2 separate regions of the Homo sapiens genome follow, and region 1 is linked to region 2. Evidence: promoter capture Hi-C in 16 types of primary human blood cells and fetal thymus (Javierre and others, 2016). All regions are on one chromosome and are shown on one strand. The core of a region is centred on a gene start or on the middle of the fragment in contact, and the rest is flanking DNA. Distances in the headings are between cores, read along the strand shown.

Region 1 (2,986 bases), core at 371-2,870, 270 kb before region 2:
CTCCCTTAGGCCGGAACTTCTCCACATTCCATGGCAGGGAATTTGGTGCCTTTGGGCAGGTGTAAGAGCTGTCTGTTTAGTTGCCTGCCTCTCATCCCAGGCAGAGCCTCTGAGCCAGGGCCTGCAGCTGAGGACAGTAATGGGCTCCTCTCTGAATAGGGGCTGGGGGAGCTAGCAGCAGCCTGAGATCCTCCAAATGTGTCTTCCCCAGCCTGGAACCACCTCATATCTAGGACGGGGTTGATGGGGCCCCAGTCTTCTCCGTTCACTGGGCGGAGCCTCTTGCAGAGGCTTAAACCGTACTGGTAGAATGGAGCCAAGGTGAAGCCTTCATTCTACAAATAGGGTCTGAGCAGAAAGGAGGGCCCCTCTTCTCAATCCTACTCACTCAGGACCTGGTCTCAGTCACAGGTGGGATGAGAGCAGAAAGGGAAGCACTGCTATCCTGCCTCTCCTGGGAAGACACCCCGCTGCCTGGGAGCTGGGGAGGTGGCCCTGTGTTCTTGGCTGCAGCAGGATGGAGCTCAAGTGCCACAGACTCTCCGTGTCCTTACCAAATGTATGTAGGTGTTCTGGAGCAAGTGTTTCTTCATTTGCTGGGTGCCCATAGGACCATTTCCAAAGGCTCTCTAAATGGCTGTTTTGGGACTGCTCATTACTCTCTGAGAAGGTCAGTGAAGCTCCTCGAGCCATCATGTTGAAGTCAGTCTCGGCCAGCCCTTTTGGAGAAACCATGTTTGTGCTTCTGACATACCAGTTATTAAACAATCTACTGGAATGAGGAGAATCTCAATGATGAGAAAGTCTTTCCTTTTTTGGACTGTGGGAGCAGTCCAAGCTGCCCAGCTGCAGAGCAGGAATCTGCAAGTGAGACTGTGACCAATTCTTGACATTTTGGAGTTGACACCTTGGAGGTGGTTAATCCATGACGAAACTGAAGCTAAGCCGATCTCATGTTTTGACTCCTGTCAATCCGGAGAGGACAGCAAATGGCCTGCTCAGGTGTCTGTTAACAGCCAGCGCTTCCAGGCCCACCAGATCCTCAGGTGTCTGTTAACAGCCAGCGCTTCCAGCCCAGCAGATCATCTGGCTTTTCTCTGCAGAAGGGGCCAAAAGGTCCACCTGATGAACCTGTTGCACGCGAAAAGTTCAGAACCACTGCTGCCAAGATGCTGACAGAAGCCTTGAGAAGCACCTGCTGCGGGAAAAGACGTGCAGGCGTAGAACACAGAGCGGGTGGCAGCTTCTTCAGTTCAATCCCCACCTCAGGCAGTTGTTGGGGGTCATATCTAGGGTGAGCTGTGGTGATGGAATAGAGATTTGGAAGCCAGGCATCACTCGTATAACCTCATAAGCTCCTTACCCAAGTTGTCCTCATCTGAAATGGGTGTGCCACTCCTTTAAAGCTGTTCAGGCACCGAGCTGGGCTCCCCACACAGCATACTCCAGCACAGAGCAGCAAAGCGCCCGGAGGAGGGCTCACAGCAGGGAGGAGAGGTGGGGCAGTGGCTTTCTAGGTCAGAGATGTCTTTTCCCTACGAGGCACGTGATGGCGTTTTAGGGAGATGGGCTTGTTTAAGACCCAGTGGGAGGATTTTGATGAGAGATGTTTATGGCAACTCTTAGCAAGTTCTGTAACCTCTGTTGCCTCAGTCCCCTTGGTGTAACTGTGACCATGACGTCTGCCGGGGCTCTCAGCAAAGCCCTGCCCTTGTGAGAGGACGGAGGCGCAGCCCCCGGTGTGCTGTGGTAGCAGGCACTTCACCCAGCCTGTGGGCAACTGGCGTGTCCTGTGTACAGCAGGCGGGCGTCCTGGCCTCCGGTGGGCTGCTGCCTGCTCTTCTCCCTCCTGTTTCAGACACACACTCTGACTGCCACAGTATCACAGGACCTTGGAGCTGCCACCCCACAGGGTTTCTGGAGCTGTCTTGGGCTACGGGGTGCATGGCTGAGACAGATTATTTCTTTTTTTTTTTTTTTTTGAGACGGAGTCTTGCTCTGTCACCCAGGCTGGAGTGCGGTGGCGCAATCTCGGCTCACTGCAAGCTCCGCCTCCTGGGTTCACGCCATTCTCCTGCCTCAGCCTCCCAAGTAGCTGGGACTACAGGCGCCCACCACCACGCCCGGCTAATTTTTTGTATTTTTAGTAGAGACGGGGTTTCACTGTGTTAGCCGGGATGGTCTCGATCTCCTGACCTTGTGATCCACCTGCCTCAGCCTCCCAAAGTGCTGGGATTACAGCCGTGAGCCACCGCGCCCAGCCGAGACAGATTATTTCTGTGTTTTATTTTTTTGTTTTTTTCCTTTTTTTATTTCTCTTATCTGCTGTTGGGCAGGGCACTCTTCATCCGTCCCCTTCTGGGTTCCAGTTCTAGGGCCTGTTGGCAGCAGCTCTTGGGCCTTTCCCGGCCATGTCAACCTGCATTGCTCCTGTTTGTTGCTTCTACTACTCACACTCATTCCTTTCGAGTTTTCTAAGTGCAGTGTGGTATTGTGGACTGGATTCTGGAACAGAAAAACGGTTCATGGAGAAACCGATAAAATACAAATAAAATCTATAGTTTAGTGAAGAGTACCGTAATGTCACTAATTTCTTAATGTTGACAATGTCCTGTAGTTGTTTAACATTAGTGGAAGCTGAGTGAAGGCTACATGGCAACTCCCTGTACTATTTTATTATTATTATTTTTTCAGAGACACTGTCTCACTCTGTCACCCAGGTGGAGTGCAGTGGTGCAGTCATAGCTCACTACAGCCTCAGACTCCTGGGATCAAGTGATCCTCTCACCTCAGCCTCCCACATAGCTGGGACTACAGGTGCACACCACCACACCTGGCTAATTTTTAAAAAAATTTTTTAAAGATGGGCTTTCGCTGTATTGCCCAGGCTGGTCTTGAACTCCTGGGCTCGAGCGATCCTCCTACCTCAGCTTCCCAAGTAGCTGGGATTACAGGTGTGAGCTATCACACCAGTTTCTTTGTACTA
Region 2 (2,748 bases), core at 177-2,676:
CCCAAGTTCTACAGCTTAACTGACTGTAGTAATGTTTAGGTTCCTCACGTCAGAAAATTATCCTACAGCAAAAAGATCAACTCCTGAAAGCTGGTCATTAAATATTTCCAAATTTGTCTTTTAGTGGTATCTATAAATTACAACGGGACCCTCCATTTCTCTTTAAAAAATTAGCCAGAGCAAGACTTGATGTGTCATATGCAATCTGTCCCTGGCTGGAGAAAAATGCAGAGTTTGGACTTTTCCTGAAGAACATCCAAGTTCCTTTTTAACACGCTGGGCTCTACTTCAATGCATCCTGAACTCATGTAAGTCTTTTTACTACCAGCCTAATAGCTGCCTTCTGTGCCAGAATTCCTTTTAATGCACTCAATTGCCCAGAAGTCGCTTCTTTTTAAGGAACTTCCCATTGATATTTGGAGCTGGAGCCTTTGTGCTTATAATTAATGACAGAGAAGACACACCGCTTGGGGGGCTGATTTAAAAGGGCTGAATTGTAAGGTCCACTCTGGTGCTTAGGTCCAGTGATACTGGACTCTGAACAGGCTTACTTGTTGAGCGATTTAGGGGGAAACTGGAATTCTCCGTAGGAAATGGTGTCTACTGCGTTGAGCGCTATCCGCACCACCTGCTGGCACTGGAGACTGATGAAGTCGTATTTACAGATAAGCAGGGACTGCTCCGTGACCAGCACCAGCCGCTCCTTCTCATTGTTCCAGTGATCCACCCTGTAGGCAGAGGAGGGGCCTCAGTCCACACTGGACGCGGCTGTCTCGACTTAGCCAAGGCCAGCCCGCCTGGAAGGGCAGCAGGGGCGGCACGGGGCGCCTGAGCGTGGCACGAGCACCCCGGGAAGTCCTCGCAAGGTGCTGCGCGGCGGCTCGGGGCGAGTCCCCCCACCAAGGAGAGCGCAGCCCCGGCTTACTCGGTAAGCAGCCACACTCCCTGGATCTCGCCGTCCTCCACGGGCCGCACCACCACGCGGATCTCCTCCACTGCCTGCTCGATGCTGCCGGGCTGGGCGGGTTGCGGGGTGGGGGACGGGGGCAAAGATCACAGGTCACAGCTCGCTCCCTGCGGGACCGCCCGGCGCCCGCCTCCGACCCCACCCGCCCCCATCCCGCCCCGCGCCCTCGGCCCCCGCCCCGGCCCTGGCCCCTGCCTCACCCGGAACACGAAGTACTCCTTGACGCGGGCGCGGCGCGTGGGGTCGTGGATGCTGAGAGGCCAGAGTGTCTGGCGCAGCGGCGTCCCCGCCCCCGGCCGCCCCCCGCCCGGGCCGCCGCCTGCCCCCACCTCCTCGCCGGCCGCCAGCACCGCCGTGGGGCTCGTACCGGCCGAGTCCACCGAGTCCCGCAGTTGCAGCATTGCCGCACCCCTTACCGACCCCGACCCTGACGCCGACGCGACCGCCGTCGCCGCAGCCACCGCCACCACCCGGCCGCGCCCCCGGCCCCGCCCCGCGGACCGCCGCGATTGGCTCCGCCTTGCCGGCCCCGCCTCTGGCTCCGCCCCTTCCCGCGTCCGCCGACCCTCGGGATTGGCTCTCCTCCTGCCGTTTTCCGCGATTGGCTCTGCCCCGCCGCCGTTCACAATCGCTCCCGCCCCTCGCCGGGCCGGAAGCGACCGTCACGCGCAGGCTCACTTCCTGTTTACACAACGAGAAGGGGCGGGGCCGAAGCCGGTTGCCAGGGTGTCGCGGAGCGGCTGGGAAGGAGGGGCTGGGAATCTTGGAGCCCCTTGGCCCGCGGGGAAAGCGGGTGACCCGCCCTGCAAGTGGGATGCCCCCTTCGGCCTTCTGGAGCGCAGGTGGGGGCGCGCGCCCATCGGGGGCTCGCACTGCACGGAGGGTCGCGGTGCCGGGGAGCTGAGGTTGGAGGATGCAGGGCGGCGGCCCTGGTGCACCGTGGGGGAGTTCGCACGCCGGGCAGCGATCTTCTGCCGGGACCTGGCGTTCTTCACACACGGCTTATTCGTGACGGATCCACAGAGCAATGCACTCTGAAGCCGGAGGGTAGAAAGTGCTGGAATGCGCGCCCGGGCCCAGGCTGTCGCGAGCCTTCAGCAAGCCAGTGCACACAGAGAGGGCTGCCCAGAGATCCCGGTCAGCGCTCGCAGTTCGAGGTGGAACATGTGTGTGCCCTGCGCTAGCCCCAGCTCCCGGAGGTGCCCCCAGCGCGTGTGGAGGGGGGCGGTGAACGGACCCGCAATCTGGTGGAGGCTGCGGGAAGGAGGCGCAGAGTCCAGGGGTCAGGGTTACCTTCGGGCAGGAGGACAGATCCCTCTGCTCGGAGGTGAGGAAGACACACGAGGCGAGGTGCACACAGGCGAGGAGAGTGAGATGGGGGGAGAATGAGGAGTTCAGGATACATCTGTTTACTTCAGTCAGGGAGTGGGGATGGAGCGGAGTATTTGTAAAGATGGACGGTTTAGAATCGCCGGGATGAGAACCGGGCAGGGAGCTGATCAGGGAAGGGCATGGGGATCTCTGAGCAGCTGGGAGACCCCAGGGAAGTTTGCAGTGGCGCCTCCCACGCGGCAGCTGGGGGAGTGGAAGAAACCAATGCTGGCTGGTCTAGATGGAGGAGTTTGCTGGGTAGCGGTGGTCAAAGACCAGAGAGAAAAGGGAGGCCAAAATCCTAGAGGGAGTGTTGCCCAAGAATGGTGGAGTGCAGGGATTCTGCCCCACTTGCCAGCAGACAGGCCAGGCTGCCAAAGTTGCATGGGCGCTGGCAGAAAGACCCAATA

The links. Contacts are between HindIII fragments. The CHiCAGO score rates a contact against its expected background, and 5 or more counts as called.
Region 1: a contact is called between a fragment that was not itself captured here and the fragment with the promoter of TPRG1L in region 2, in 1 of 17 cell types (monocytes). The highest score is 5.3, in monocytes.

Annotation. Positions count from the first base shown.
Region 1 is chr1:3,893,603-3,896,588 of GRCh38, reverse strand. The region is part of intron 1 of C1orf174 (chromosome 1 open reading frame 174); the gene reads left to right. Among named protein-coding and RNA genes, the nearest start is that of C1orf174, 5.2 kb to the left of the region's middle. The HindIII fragment of the contact is 8,006 bases long and covers 1-2,986 here.
Region 2 is chr1:3,623,693-3,626,440 of GRCh38, reverse strand. TPRG1L (tumor protein p63 regulated 1 like) reads right to left here and starts at 1,426. Exons shown (of 5, transcript NM_182752.4): 1 at 1,168-1,426; 2 at 926-1,017; 3 at 552-728. The coding sequence starts at 1,368. It also overlaps a transcript of MEGF6 not described here. RefSeq lists enhancers at 390-1,052, 2,033-2,152 and a silencer at 1,353-1,582. The HindIII fragment of the contact is 13,719 bases long and covers 1-2,748 here.